Linked DNA regions of Homo sapiens: all the other regions are linked to region 3. The links are contacts of gene promoters, found by promoter capture Hi-C in blood cells and fetal thymus (Javierre and others, 2016). All regions are on one chromosome and are shown on one strand. Each heading gives the region's core, a stretch centred on a gene start or on the middle of the fragment in contact. The rest is flanking DNA. Distances are from core to core; before and after follow the strand shown. Region 1 holds the start of BTBD6 (BTB domain containing 6). Region 2 overlaps PACS2 (phosphofurin acidic cluster sorting protein 2). Region 3 holds the start of PLD4 (phospholipase D family member 4).

The links. The method cuts DNA at HindIII sites, captures the fragments that hold promoters and counts their contacts. A CHiCAGO score of 5 or more calls a contact.
Region 1: a contact is called between the fragment with the promoter of BTBD6 here and the fragment with the promoter of PLD4 in region 3, in 9 of 17 cell types (M1 macrophages, erythroblasts, monocytes and 6 more). The highest score is 7.4, in M1 macrophages.
Region 2: a contact is called between a fragment that was not itself captured here and the fragment with the promoter of PLD4 in region 3, in 1 of 17 cell types (total CD4 T cells). The highest score is 5.9, in total CD4 T cells.

What each region holds. Positions count from the first base shown.
Region 1 is chr14:105,247,229-105,251,903 of GRCh38, reverse strand. It overlaps BTBD6 (BTB domain containing 6), which reads right to left and starts at 3,371. Exons shown (of 4, transcript NM_001387567.1): 1 at 2,819-3,371; 2 at 2,657-2,747; 3 at 2,426-2,544; 4 at 811-2,264. The coding sequence starts at 3,192. The coding sequence ends at 1,232. The region is part of intron 5 of BRF1 (BRF1 general transcription factor IIIB subunit); the gene reads left to right. RefSeq lists enhancers at 1,374-2,163, 2,955-3,745 and silencers at 2,770-2,819, 3,020-3,579. The HindIII fragment of the contact is 26,340 bases long and covers 1,109-4,675 here.
Region 2 is chr14:105,353,114-105,357,959 of GRCh38, reverse strand. It overlaps PACS2 (phosphofurin acidic cluster sorting protein 2), which reads right to left. Exons shown (of 25, transcript NM_001100913.3): 4 at 2,783-2,908. Among named protein-coding and RNA genes, the nearest start is that of PACS2, 41 kb to the right of the region's middle. RefSeq lists an enhancer at 4,708-4,846. The HindIII fragment of the contact is 1,302 bases long and covers 1,576-2,877 here.
Region 3 is chr14:104,922,857-104,927,829 of GRCh38, reverse strand. PLD4 (phospholipase D family member 4) reads right to left here and starts at 2,951. Exons shown (of 11, transcript NM_138790.5): 1 at 2,840-2,951; 2 at 600-689; 3 at 1-157. The coding sequence starts at 689. RefSeq lists enhancers at 2,117-2,626, 2,609-2,778. The HindIII fragment of the contact is 16,221 bases long and covers 1-4,973 here.

The DNA.
Region 1 (4,675 bases), core at 2,122-4,621, 320 kb before region 3:
GGGTAAGTCCTGTCTCTCCCTCGAGGCAGCAGCAGTGTTCATGCATGCAGAATCTAACCTAGCGGAAAAGTCTAGAAGGAAAGGATCAAAACAGCACTCACTGCCCGATGGTTCTGACCTACCCTTTCTTTACCAAGCAGATGACTGGTTTCCATGGCCCGCTTAGAGGCCCCTTTCTTACTTTGCCTGTTTGCATCTAGGAGCGTATGTCCTTTGGGTAGAGAAGCACCAGGTGGGGCTGGGTCACCAACAGGACTGAGCAACACGGGCTGCAGCAGCAGAGGGGCACCGGCTGAGGCTATACACTCGGCCCATGCCCTCTCCCAGGTGCCAAGAGGGGCCATCCCTCTTTTCGGGGGTCATACAGGTTTTCCAGAAAACAACTGCCTACAGGGTATGCAGAGTGGGAGGAGAGAGACAAGGGGTGGGAGAGCCTGTTTCACCCTATAGTCCACTCCTGCAACAGGCTGTCCCGCAGCAGTGTCACAGCTAGTGACAGTCCCCAGGGTCCAGAACGCTGGGCCCAGCAGAATGCTCCCCCGACAGTCTGTTCATAGGGTAGGACTCTGAGGTGCTAGTGATGCATTAGGACATAGAGACAACCAGGCACCTGGTGTTTCCTAGGGTGGCCCAGAAGCCAGCCAGCAACCCAGGGGACAGATGGGCTTCACTGGGGCGCAGTTTGCTCCTAACCACATAGCATGTTCAGCATGACAGGTTTTCTCCTCGGGATGGGAGGGAGCTGTTCTGTTGCATGAGAAAGAGAATACCCCACTGTACAACTGCTGTAGTCATTTACTGACACGTGGGTGTTATTTTAGGCAACCTTTATTACAGAAGTCCACTATTTTAAGTGACTTTTTGCCAATTTTAGATTTGAAGGGAAGGTCTCAAGTTAAGCTTGGAACCACTTAGAATCCAAGAGGGTAGCAGGAAGATCCAACCCCTCAAAGCAGGTGGCATGGGTGCCACTGGGAGGGGATCTGGGGCCTGTCTTGAGCCGTAAATCTTCCTCCACCTGAGACGTGCACCCCACTGTACCAGAGATGCCTAAGACTCCAATCCCTGGGTTCTGGCTGTGTGGAAAATGTCTCTACACAGTCAAGCTTCAGCTGACTACATGTCAAAGAGAGACAAAGTTAAGAGCAGCCTTTCATGGTGTCAAGAAGCAGTTAGCATCTTGACTTCCCCTCCACTCACTCGCTGACCTGCTGCAGCCTCCCCGGGCACCTCAGGCATAGAAAATGAGCTCAGGGATCTGCCCACCCTGGACCCCAGTCCCGTTGGTGCTGTCCGAGGAGCACTGGAACTGGAAGGCCACCTTTCCACACTGCACTTCCGTCATCCCCTCCTGCCCAAAGTAGCTGAGTTCGCTGCCGTCCAGGACGGCACTGGCCGTGTAGAAGGTGTCTTGTTCAACCTGGACCGGGTGTTCAAACCAGACCGGGAAGGTGTTACTGGATCCGTCTGACATGAACTTGGTCAAGTTCTGAGCCAGAACCACCCCGAGCCGCTTGAGCTCAATCTTCACGCTGTACTCAGCCTTCCCAGAGCTGGAGCCATACAGGCCCAGCCCTGCAATAAATACCCTTCTGTCCACTGCAAACTGGATGCTGTCGCAGCGCCCGCGGTACCGCCACTGGTTGCTGCGGTAGGCAGAAGACTGGAATCGGTGGCACCTCTGCGGGGCGAGGCCCTTCCTCTTGGTCAGGGGAAAGTCCAGGCGGGGCTTGTTGGTGGCCGTGTACCACAGGAAGATGCTGTGGGTCTCCTCCAGAGTCAGGATGTCTGACTGGGCAGCGCCGTTGGCAAACTCCTCTAGGGTCATGGTTGGAATTCGGACCAGATAGAGGGCTCGCCCCAGAACATGCCTCTTGTTTCGTGGGGTGATTGGCAGCCCCTGCCTCTTGCACTCCGCCTCGGCCCAGTTCAGGACGGCCTCGAAGACCACCGCCTCTTTGGTGTTGAGGGCCTCCCGAGTGACAATGATCTCCAGCGTCTGCCGGTCTATCTCACAGAAGCCTTCGGACCGTAGGGCCATCTCGGCCTGTGCGTCAATGACCTCCCAGCAGCGCTGCGTCAGCTCGGGCTCCTCAAACAGCCGGCTCTGGGACAGCAGGACGCAGGCGTTCTTGGCTTCCAAACTTGTCTCCAGAAAGTTGACACAGGCTTTTGCCAATGCTGGGACGATGTACTTCTTAGCAGCGTACAGAGTGGCCAGCACCGTGTCGGCTTCCAGATCGATCTCATCACTGTACATGTACCTAGGCGAGGCAGGGCCCGCGTCAGGGGCTGGCTCCCAAGCACCCATCGCGGGGCTGGGCCTGGGAGAGGAGTCCATCAGCTCCTGTGTGCTTCCCTTCAGAAGCCTCCGGAGGCCGCCTAAAACGGACCCACCCGTCCCTCCCCAGTAGAGTGGACTTACTTTAAGAGGATCAGAAAGGCTGCGGGCTCCACGTCTGGAATGTGAATTTCAGATTTGACTTCCGCCAGGTCTCCGTAGAACATGGCATAGAAGACGGAGCTGCCGACAGCCAAGACGTACTGGGAGGAGAAAGCGCCGCCGTGAGCCTGGCTCTCCCGCAGGCTGCGTGTCAGCCACACGGCGGACGGGGCGGACGGGGCACGCGTTCCGAGAGGGGCCGCCGCTACCCACCTTGTGGGCGGGCACCGTCCTGGTCGCCCCCGGGGGCCCCACGACGAAGTGCACGTCGGCCATGAGCTCGTTGTTGAACATGAGCGCGTTCCTGCAAAGGTAGAGGCACGGGCTGGGGGCGTGGGCGCGCGCGGGCGCGGGGGCCGCGGGGCACGGGCTCACCTCTCGCGCAGCGTGGGGCGGCAGCACCGCCAGCCGGGGCTCTCCTGGTGGTTGTTGCCGAGTGTGGGCGGCGCGGGCGCGGGCGGCGGCGGCGCTGGCGCGGGGGCGCTGGGCGGGCTGCGCGGCCCGGCCTTCCTGCCCACGGCGGCGCCGGCGTTGCTGTTGGCTAGGTCCGCGGCCGCGGCGCTGGCGGGAGCGTAGAGTTCCGCCGCCATCTTCGCGGGCGGGGCGGCGGGGGCAGCCTCGGCGCCTGTGGACGCCGCGCCCCGCGCCCTCGCGCCGCGCCGGGGCCTCGGGAGCGGCTCTGCAAGCAAAAGCAAGGAGGTCAGGCACTGAGCGACGCGGCCGTGCAGGCAGGCTAGGGGCAGCAGCATGGGCGGCGGCGGCGCTGTGACCCGCGGGGCTGCCACCCGCTCCCCTGCCACCCCCGCCCCTGCGACCCTGCCCGAGCCCAGCCTAGCGCAGCCCGGCCAGGCCCGGCCGCGGGGGGCGCCGTCCCGCCCGCCCGCCCGCCCGAGCCCGTACCCGCCGCGGCGCCGGTGCGTCACGCTGCGTCAGGGCCGCGCCCCGCGCGACGTCGCTGCCTCGCGGCCCCGCCCCCAGGCCCGACATCCTCGAAGCTGCTCGAGCTTCTGCCCAGCAACCGGCGCGAGCCGCGCGCTGTGCAGAGGTAGCCGTGGAAGGCGGCTCCCGGCGCTGGCAGGCGGCCGCCCCCAGACCCGCAGTGCCATGCGCAGGTGCTTGCGCCCGTTCTTCAGTTAGCGATCTTTTGGTTAGGAACGCAGGTGGACCTGCTTGTTTGGCCATTTGCATTCCGGAGTCTGCCTCTGGCCGCGGCCTGTGGGATGGTCGTTGGGCTTCCTCGTTCGTTCAGATGCTTCGCGATTTAGCTTGCTACGGACGCCAGCAGCCAGCGCTTGCAGAGAGCGCGGTCCACTCTGCTCTGAGGGCTTTACAGGGGCAGGCGCTGCTATTTCCCGGCATTTTCCTCGAGGAAATAGGCACAGAGAGGTTAGTCGCGCGCTGAAGGTCACACAGCCGGCGGGTGGGCAAGTCAGGATCTGGCCCTGGGCCTGCAGCCCTGGAGCTTGGGCCCCAGGGCGCGCCCTGCCTCTGTGGCTCTGCCTGTGGATCGCAGTCGCAGGCTCGCTCCTTGTGGGGCCTCTAGCCTCCCGGCCTGGGGCTAATCCTGGGAGGTGCGTGGCATGGGGCACTGGCTTTGCTGATGAGGAGACCAGACTTCAGAGGCCGTGTCACCTGGCCTGGGCCGCACAGCTGGTGCATGCCAAGCTCGCGTGCAGACGAAGCTCCAGAGGCCTGGCTGTCAGGAGGGTTCCTCCCCGAGGACACACACGCAACCTCCTGGACCGCCAGGCTTTAGACTTTTAAAACTTCCATATGCAGGAAACCCCACAGGACGCAGCCAGCATCTCGGGTCATGGGTGCACCTGTCACCGCAGTCCTGGGCTAAACAGTGAACAGGAGCTCTGTGTCTCTGTGGTCGTTACAGTTGTAGTGAATGTTCCCTGGGAGAGTCCTCTTCAGAAGATATTTGCGGTATTTTCAACAAAGGACTCTCCAGGATGGAGGAGCAACTACAAGTCAGGAAGGAAAAGGCTGACAACCCAGTTTTTTAAAAAACGGGCAAAGGACGTGAACAGACACCATGCAATGGCCCAGAGTGCACAAATCATCATTTCTCCCAGGAATGGGGTGCCCGAGCCCCCAGGCGGCTGAACTTGAGACTTGTCACGTAGTGTTGGTGGAATGCAGAGCAGCTGGAGATCACCTGCTGCAGGTGGGTGCGTAACTCCGCACGGCCAAGCCGTTTGGAAAGCTGTAGCATATGCATGAGAG
Region 2 (4,846 bases), core at 977-3,476, 430 kb before region 3:
CCACCACACTCTCAGCCCTGGCCTCGAGTCCGCCCAACAGCCCGCCTCACCCCACCCTGTGCCCTCAAGGACCCTTCCCCACCGCCGAGCACTACTCTCAAATGCATGGCGCCAGCCTCACCGACACCCCACTCTCACGACAGTCCCTATGGCAGCACCCATGCCCTCACCCCCGTCTCAGGCGTGCAGTCTCGGAGCCAGCAAGCCCCCATGGCACAGCTGCCTGAGCCCAGCTGGTGAGAGCCCCCCACCTCTGCCACCTGTGTCCGTCTGTGCCCTCGGGGCTGTCCCGCCTCCGCAATCTCCCGTGCTCATACTCTCAACAAGCCAGCAACGCTCACAGGTGGGAACCAGCCCCAAAAGGTGGCAGGACACAGGGAGCCCATGAACCGCCCTGGTGCTCGGGGACACATGGGAGGACCCAACTAGGTTCTGGGACCAGGCTGCCAGTGGAAGGTGGAAGGATGCCCCGAGGGCCTGGAGGAGATGCTGGAGGGGAGAGCGAGGAGCAGTCAGATGACCTCGGCTTTGGAAGCCACAGGTGCAGGGCGAGGGAGCCTTGGGGTGGGGGCCACAGGCTCAGGGGCAGGGCACTGGAACTACATCCAGGGGTGGGGCTTTTCTGCCAAGAGTGAAGAACAGATGATGGGATTTCAAGCAGCAGACGATGTGGCTGGTGTGACCTGGGGTGGGGGAAGGTTGCTCCAGCCTCTCCCCGGGGATCAGGAGGGGACAGCCCAAGGCTGGGAGGACAGGTGAGGGAGGGGCCTGGGAGCAGAGGCCAGCATTCAGGGCAAGGACGTCAAACACAGAAGCACCAGTGCTGAGAGGGGCTGGGAGGAGCCGCCTGGGGCACTGGGGTGCAGACTGAGAGATGTGGGCGGAGCAGCCTGGGGCAGGAGCTCACAGGGACCGGCAGGGATCAGCAGGACATCACCTGCATGGCTACACAGGGACCAGCAGGGATCAGCAGGACATCGCCTGCATGGCTAATGGGAAACACAGGGACCGGCAGGGATCAGCAGGACATCGCCTGCATGGCTAATGGGAAACACAGGGACCAGCAGGGATCAGCAGGACATCGCCTGAATGGCTAATGGGAAACACAGGGACCGGCAGGGATCAGCAGGACATCGCCTGCATGGCTAATGGGAAACACAGGGACCGGCAGGGATCAGCAGGACCTCGCCTGCATGGCTAATGGGAAACACAGGGACCGGCAGGGATCAGCAGGACCTCGCCTGCATGGCTAATGGGAAACACAGGGACCGGCAGGGATCAGCAGGACCTCGCCTGCATGGCTAATGGGAAACAGAGCCTGCATGACCTCCCCACAGTGCCTGGACCCTCCTGCTCCACAGGAAGCAAGCGGTGGCTCCCAGGAGGCTCTCACAGCCCAGAGAGCATCCCTGAGCTACCTGTTCACCCATCGCTCAGCCTGCAGGAGGGAGGCTGGGATGATGGGCAGCTCCAGGCCACCAGAGGGGTCCCAGGGCCCTGGGAAGTGCAGCCTGGAGGCCCGGTCCACCCGTGCTGTCCGTGGTTTGCCGAAGGAATCGGGAAGACTGCAAAGCTTGTCTGAGGCCCTGCGGCGGCACGGAGAAGCGAGGCCTCGGGACGCCACTGCTGCTTCCTGTACCCTCCACGCTCCCATCTCCTGGGGTAGCAGGGAGGGCTGAGCCCAGAGTAGTACTTGGCACTTGTCCTGGATGCGTAAGTGGGGGTGTGTGAGGATCTGGGGGACCTAGCGCTTGACCTGGGAGACAGGAGGCCTGCAGGCTGGGCCTGGGGGTGTGGGGGAACCAGCTACAAGTGGGCACCCCCACTGTCCCAGCCCCAAGCCCCAGGAGCAGGGGGACAAAGTGGGAAGAAGAGGGGCTGGGGGGCTCTGGCATCTCCGGCTCCCAATGAGGGGCTGCGCTGGCTGACCTTCCCAGGCCCCAGGCAGGCAGCAACCCAGCTTCACATGCCCCAAGCACCACTCACGCCCGCAGCCCCTGGACCCCTGAACACAACCCCACGATGGGGAAAGTTCTGAAGCAAAAGAGACAAACTGGTCTGGGGCCCTGGGCTGCCCCTTCTCCCAGAGCCAATCTTGCAGCCCCGAAAGGGTCCATGAGAAAGTCCGAGGCCTCAGCCTGGGGTGTCTTCTCCCAGGCCCCCACGCCCTACTGCAGCCTCCTTGGAACGCTGGGTTCTCTGGAGCAAGGTGGGCTGCTGCTTGGCTGTTTCTTTTCCTTTTGAGGTACTTCCCCTTCTTTCCCCTCCAGGGAACTCCAGCCACCCCTCTGACCTCTGGGTGCTGCCCCCGCCCTGCTCGGGTATTGTCGCTAGCCCCTTCACAGAACTGACACCTGTCCTGCTCCTGCTCAGCCAATCCTGGGCCAGAGCACGTGCTGAGCAGGATGCAGACACGAACCCATCACAGGACGCACCCGTGGTGTGGGGACAGCAGCGATTCCTCCATGGGAAGGACTCCAGAGCAGCCTGACCCAAAACCCAGCCTCCACTGAAGGGCAGGACAGGCTCGTTAGAGGGGAGTGCGCGCGGCTGCAGGCATGCGGGGAGCCATGCTAGGCGGCAAGGGAAGGTCAGAGAGGAAGCACCACCTGGGGCCGCACCTGGCCCTTATGGCGGAGCCCGGCCGCCCAGGCTCCTCTCATCATTTTCACCTGATCCCTGGACATCTGGACCCGGGAGAGACATCTCCATCTCCCACGGGCGAATGCTCTGGCACCCAGGTGGCCAGCCCGACGCAGGCCACGCCAGACGGAGCACTCACCTCAGCCATGCTGATGGAGCCCGCGGCCAGCGTCTTGTAGCCCAGGATGGTTCTGTTCTTGTAGCGCTTTCTGCGCTGCAGCATGATCTGAAGCTTGTTGCCTTCCCTCTTCAAGAAGTGAGGATACTGTGGGCACAAGTGCGAGTGGCAGCTGAGGGTGCACCGGGGCCCCAGGCAGCATCACGGCCTCTGACGGCCCAGCCACCCTGCAGCCTGCGACCAGGCCAACCTGCTGCCCATGAGATCGGAAGGGCACCCACAGACGGGCCCCCAAGTTCATCCCAGTGGCATGCCGGTCCCCAGAGCCCATCCTTTACCCAACACAATCAAGAGTGAGCCAGTCGCCAGAGCTCAGGCCCTGAGGGCTCCGCGCCACGCTAACAGCCATGGCAGGTGGACAAGGACTATGTGCTGCAGTGTCCGGGATGGCCGAGCGCGCCTGTGGACACTCGGAAACAGTGTGGCGGCTCATGTGCCTGAGGCAATCAGCAAGGTGGGACCCAGGACGCTTTTCCGCGAGGGGCACACAGGGCGGGGAGGGCTCTCCCTCCGAGGCCCCCTGTTCACCCAACTCGCCTGCACGTCTCACCACAGGCTCCCTGTCCAGCAGGGCTCCAGCAAGCTGATGTTCACAGGTATCTCTTAGACACTCAGAGTTCACAAATAAAAATCAGTTTAAATACTTAGGGGAAAATGGGGCTGTTCACCACCCTAACTGCGGTGGTGCTGACATGCCTGAGCATGCCTATCAAAACCCACTGAACCATGGAGCATTGGGCCAGGCGCGGTGGCTCACACCTGTAATCCCGGCACTTTGGGAGGCCAAGCTGGGCGGATCACCTGAGGTAGGGAGTTCGAGACCACCCTAGCCAACATGGCAAAACCCCATCTCTACAAAAATACAAAAATTAGCCGGGCTCACTGTCACCTCCACCTCCTGGGTTCAAGCAATCCTCCTGCCTCAGCCTCCCGAAGAGCTGGGATTGCTTGTGAACTCTGAGTTTCCCCTATCTTTTTAAATAGAAGAGCAAAATAGCCTTGACTCAGTAAGTGTTTTTTTGCCCTCGTTATTATATTCTCTCTTTTTTTTGAGATGGAGTCTCACTCTGTCCCCCAGGCTGGAGTGCTATGGCATGATCTCAGCTCACTGCAACCAACCTCCACCTCCCGGGTTCAAGCGATTCTCCTGCCACCTACCTCGGCCTCCCGAAGTGCTGGGATTACAGGCATGAGCCACCACACCCGGCCTTATATTCTCTTTATCATAGATAAGGAATGAAAAACTAGGCTGGGCATGGTGTCCCACGCCTGTAATCCCAGCACTTTGAGAGGCCGAGGCAGGCAGATCATGCAGTCAGGAGTTCGAGACCAGCCTGGCCGACATGGTGAAACCCCGTCTCAACTAAAGATACGAAAAATAGCCGGGCGTGGTGGCACATGCCTGTAATCCCAGCTGCTCGGGAGGCTGAAGCAGGAGAATCGCTTGAACTCGGGAGGTGGAGGTTGCAGTGAGCCAAGACTGCACCAGCCTGGGTGACAAGGAGAGACTCCATCTCAAAAACAAACAAACAAACAAAAAACAAAGAAAAAACAAAGAAAAACTCAACCTAATAAACAAATACAAATCTTCTAATCATTTAAGAATAAACCATAATCAACAGAAGATCTGCAGTAACGCAGGACACTGATGGCAATGATGAGACAAATGCTCTCACCCCAGGGGACAGTGATGAGGGGGCCCATCACCCCAGGGGACAGTGATGAGGGGGGGCCGTCACCCCAGGGGACAGTGATGAGGGGGGGCCATCACCCCAGGGGACAGTGATGAGGGCGCCCGTCTCCCCAGGGGACAGTGACGAGGGGGCCCATCACCCCAGGGGACAGTGATGGGGGGGCCCGTCACCCCAGGGGACAGCGATGGGGGTGCCCGTCTCCCCAGGGGACAGTGATGAGGGGGTGCCCATCACCCCAGGGGACAGTGATTGGGGGGGCCCGTCACCCCAGGGGACAGTGATGGGGGTGCCCGTCTCCCCAGGGGACAGTGATGAGGGGGTGCCCGTCACC
Region 3 (4,973 bases), core at 1,702-4,201:
GGGGCTCCCAAGCTGGGCTGGAGCCATGCTCCCAGGACCTGGGCACGTCCTTGGGCTGCACCTGGCCCCAGGTGGGAGGACGGGGCACTTGCCACAGGAGGCAGATAAGAGCCACGGAGCCCAGCCACAGCACAGCCAGCGCTCCCAGGACCTGCAACTGGATGGGGCAGCACCCGCAGGGTCACCAGACAGGGCGGGGCTTGACTTCTGGCTGGGCCACGATGGCCCCTCCAGTGCTGAGACAGAGACCGTCTTGACTTCCCGGACCTGGGCTGCCACTGGGGTGGGACTAGGGTGGACAAGGGAGAGGGGAGGGTGATACAGAGAAGGCCCCCAGCCCAGGGTGGTGGCAGGGGTCAGGGGGCCTGCAGCCCACTCTGCAATGCTGTGGCTCGTGGTAACTGGCTGTCCCCAGCACCTCCAGCAGGGGCATAAAGGGAAGGTCTGGAGCAGCCCAGGGAGGCTTCCCTTGCCCACCAGTCAGGGCACCTCTGCTTGGAGGCCCCCTCAAGGCTGCTTGTGACCTCTCCACTCTGGCTCGGAGCTCTTGAAAGGCCATTGATCCCAGCCACCTCCCCCCTGGGGCCCCCCAGTCCTACCGTGCCAGCCTCTCTGTCCCACGGGCGGCGGGGCGGCATGGAGCATGGCCATGTGGGGGCCACTGCTGCTTTCCAAAGAGGCTTCAGCATCTGCACAGGGCAGCCTGGCATCACCAGCAGCTCCAGCTCTGCCCAGAACTGCCCCTCAGTGCCTGGGCAGCTGGGCACTGGGGACACCCCTGCACAGACACCCACATAAGCCCCCAAAAGCCCCCCACTCATGCCCGAGGTCACGCCCTGGATGTTGGGGGTGTGCTTTCCACGAGGACAAGCCGTGTGGGTGTTGGAGCCCGCAGCCGGCCACATGTCACCTGTCCTGTCCCCCTGGCCAAGCCGGAAGGACTGCTGTTAAGGCGGTCCCCAGGGCTGAGCCTGGGCCAAGCACGAGGGGCGGGCGGGCGTCTGTGCCTAGCCACATGCCCCGGCTTTCTGTGTCTCCCCTTTCAGGGTCTCCCACTCAGTGAGTATCTAGGTATTTGCATCTCAGTTCCCTGTTTCAACCACAACTGAAACTGCGTCTGAAAGGGCTGTTTCTGCTTTTGTCGCTTGGTCCTCTTATTGCTGGCCTATAAATAACTGCTTCCCTCCTGGGCTGGGCTCCTGTCTTGGCCCCACGGCAGCCCCTCCAGAGAGCCACAGGTCAGAGGGGGCAGCTGAGCAGTACCCTTGCTGGAGAGGCTAGGCGTGGAGAGGGCAGAGATGGCGGCAGAGTGGGACCCCTACTGCTGGCAGAGGGGGTTGTCCTCTGCTGCAGGGACTCGCCTTATCTCCTCAGAGTGGTCACCCCACAAGGAGCTGGGAGCCAGGCCATCTGGGCCCTGTGGGATGTGGGCTCCCATCCCCACTCCTACCCCCAAAGCAAGCAGTCAGGCTGCCCCAGGTGCCACCATGGGGGAAGGGTGCCTCACAAGTACAGAGGCGCCCTCCCCGGGTGCAGGGAGGGGTCTGTGCCCAGCATGGTCACCTGGCTGGCCAGCCTCTGACTGAGACATCCACCAGGGCAGGAGCTGGCTGGCCCCTGGCTGGGATGGGGATGTCTCCGAGGTTTGGGGCCTGGGCCTGGGCAGTGCTGAGTGCCAGTGTCTGCAGCCAGGCTGGGCGCTGGGACCCAGGGCTCGGTGGGTCGGCTGTCCACCCAGGAGCAGCCAGCTCAGCCTCCAGGCCTCTGGGGTTCGTCTGGGCTGTCCTCCCACGGGTCAGGGCTGAGGGCTTTGAGAACCTGGCCTGCCTCAGCATGGGGCGGAAATGCCAGGAACACCACAGGAGTCGGGCCTGGACTGAGTCTGCCCTGGAGACCAAGCGTTATGGGGGATTGGGGGTAGGAGCATAAACCAAGTGTGGGGACAGGGGACTCAGGCCAAGTCACTGCGGCCCAACTCCCCCCACGCTGGGGGGTCCTGCAGAGGTGGGTGGGTGCCGCCCCCACCCCAGAGCTGAACTCTGGGGGATGCTCCCCCCACCCCACAGAGGAGACCTCAGGGTGCCCACCGTGTCCCCACTGTCCCCAGGGATTCAGGGCCCAGCATCGGGCCTTTGCTCTCCCCCACTAACTCTCAGAAGAGGAAACATGGAATCCTGGGCTGTGGCTGGTCAATGAGAGGAAACATGGAATCCTGGGCTGTGGCTGGGCAACGAGGTGCCAGGGCTGTTCTTGGACAGCTGCTCCCCACACTCCCTGCCCTCACCAGAGAGGACCTTTGCTCCCTTAAATGCTCCAGGCAGACGGGCAGCTCAGAGCACAGAGGCGCTGCCTCTTGCAGGCCCCATCTCAGACTTGGAGCCTGTCCAAGTCCCCTCCCAGGACTACAGACCCCAGAGCGCCTCACCACCTCCTCCTGCAATGGAACCTGGGAGGACCGCCAGCCAGGTTGGCTCAAGCTGAGAGACCCCTGCAGAGTAGGGCTGTAGCCCCCTGGTCCCATGGTAGATAGCGTAAGACCCTGCAGACATCAGAGGTCATGGCTGAAGGTGCCAGATTTCCTGCCCTGCAGGGCATTAGGCATGGCTGCCAGTCCCAGGCTGAGGTAGAGGGCCCAGCTGTCACCTGGCTGGAGAGCCAGGGCCCAGCTTATCCCAGCTGCACGGACTGGGGACGGAGCGAGTCATCTACAGGACTAGCTGGAGGCTGTGTGACTCTCTGGACCTGGGGTTGCTGGGAGGCTGAGGCCATAGGGAGGCAGACAGCAGCCCTTTCCCCATGCCTGGCTTTTCTCAGCTGCCCTGGCCTCATTGGCACATACCTCTGGGGGTCCTGCCTTGGTGTCTATCCTGATTCCAGCCGCAGACTGCAGGCCCTCAGCTCACGGGGCAGGCTCGGTGCTGCCTGTGCTCCACACCAACCTCCTCTTCTCTGCAGCTCACCTCCTCCTCTCTGCAGCTGGCTCCTTCCCCTTCCAGCTACTTCCTCTTTGTCCTGAGAGGCCCCCTCTCATCTGAGACAGAAACAGACGGCTGGAGCTGGGTGGGCGGGCTAGAGGGTAGGGCTGAGAACCTTCACCTCCAGGAAAAATCTACACCCCACTCCCTCGAGGTAGAGGCCCTCCAGTTGCGGGCCTACGAATCGGAGTCAAGTTCAGCTGCAGGCCACAGACACCTAAGGAACAGTGGCTTCAGCAAGGTTGTTCATTACTCTCGAACACTAAGCAGGTCCAGGGGCTGGCAGGCTAGAGACGGCCTTGCTAGAGATGATGGCATTGCTCCACTGCCATTGGGAGCCAGGCTCTCAGATCCCAGTCCCTAGGATCCCTGCCTTCATGGCCTCACAGTGGCTGCTGGAACTCAGCCATTGCCTCTGTGTTCTTAGCAGAGAATAAGGGACATCCCAGAGGAGACTTCCTGGAAGTCCCACAGGGCACTTCCACTTATCTGTGATCTGGAACTTGATCTAGAACTTAGTCACATGGCTACACTTAGCTGCAAGGGAGGCTGAGCAATGGAGGTAACTAGGGTCTTTATCTTGGAGAACGAAGCTGGGGCTGCTCACTGGCATATCTGAAAAGGTGGGCCTGGCTAGAAGCTCCTAGCAAGGGGCTCTGCCTCCCACTGCCCCACCCCCCGACTGGGGTCCCTGAGTAAGGTCTGGGACCTTGAGAACACTCCTACTTTCAATGAGGTCTGGGTGTCCACCCTGGCTCCTCCTTGTAAGGCCTATGTAGGGCAGGGGTCCAGGGTGATGGCCTCAGGGTGCCTGCAGGACACCAGTCAGGAGGGTGCAGTTCCCAAGGGTGGGGCCTGTCAGCTGCACCCCTGGGGCCAGTCTGGGTGGGCCAGGAAGTGAATGGGGAAGAGATCCATCCTCTCCCTAGCCCCTCCCAGATCTCTCTTCACCTTCCTGATGCTCTGATTTGGCCTTGGGTTCAGCCCTTACCTCCCGGCCATGGTTGGGGAGCCCCAGCCCTCTGGCTGGGTTGCTGGATGCCTGAATGCAGCTGGGCCCCAGGCATGCCCCCGAGGGTTGGGTCCTCCAGGGACTCTGGGTGAGGGTTACTCTGGGTATGGGGAGGGGCAGCCAGGTGGGTCCTGCTGTGACATTTGCAGGGCTGGGGCATGAGTATGAAGGGAGGCTGCCTTCCCTGCACTCAAGCAAAAGGCAGTTAGACAGAACAGGTTCTCTTCTGTCTTTTTTTTTTTCTTTTTCCTTTGAGAGAAGTCTCGCTCTTGTACCCCAGGTTTGAGTGCAACGGCTTTATCTCGGCTCACTGCAACTTCTGCCTCCCGAGTTCATACGATTCTCCTGCCTCTGTCTCCCAAGTAGCTGGGATTAAGGCACGTGCCACCACGCCCGGCTAATTTTTGTATTTTTTATTAGAGACGGGGTTTCACCATGTTGGCCAGGCTGGTCTCGAACTCCTGAACTCAGATGATCCACCCGCCTCGGCCTCCCAAAGTGCTGGGATTACAGGCGTGAACCACAGCGCCCAGTCTCTTCTGTCTGGACAACAATGGTGTGTGAGGGCCTGGAAGGCCAGGGGCAAGTGGAGGACCCCAGGGCTCCTTGGAGCACTCTCAGAAGTCCTTGCAGGAGGGCCAGCCCCAGCCAGTCCCCTCTCCGATTTCCCCACATTGTGAGGGGCCTCAATGAGCCCACATGCTACACCCAGCCCGTGGGTCTGAGCTCATTGCAGCCCCAGAAAAGCACCACGTCACCTCCCCTGGCTGCCCCTCAGGCCAGCAGGACTGGGTACAGCTCAGGCAGCTCTACCTCGGGAGGATGGATCCAGGCTTGGGGATGTTTAAGCAAGGAATCCTGGGCCTTGGGCTCAGGGTTCGGTGGACTGTCCTCTTGGCCTCTCAGGCTGCTTACCCTGGAAGAAAGATTGAGGCTGGAAGGGGCGTCTAGATTCGGGACCCAGGGCAGGCCTCTCAGTGGCTCCG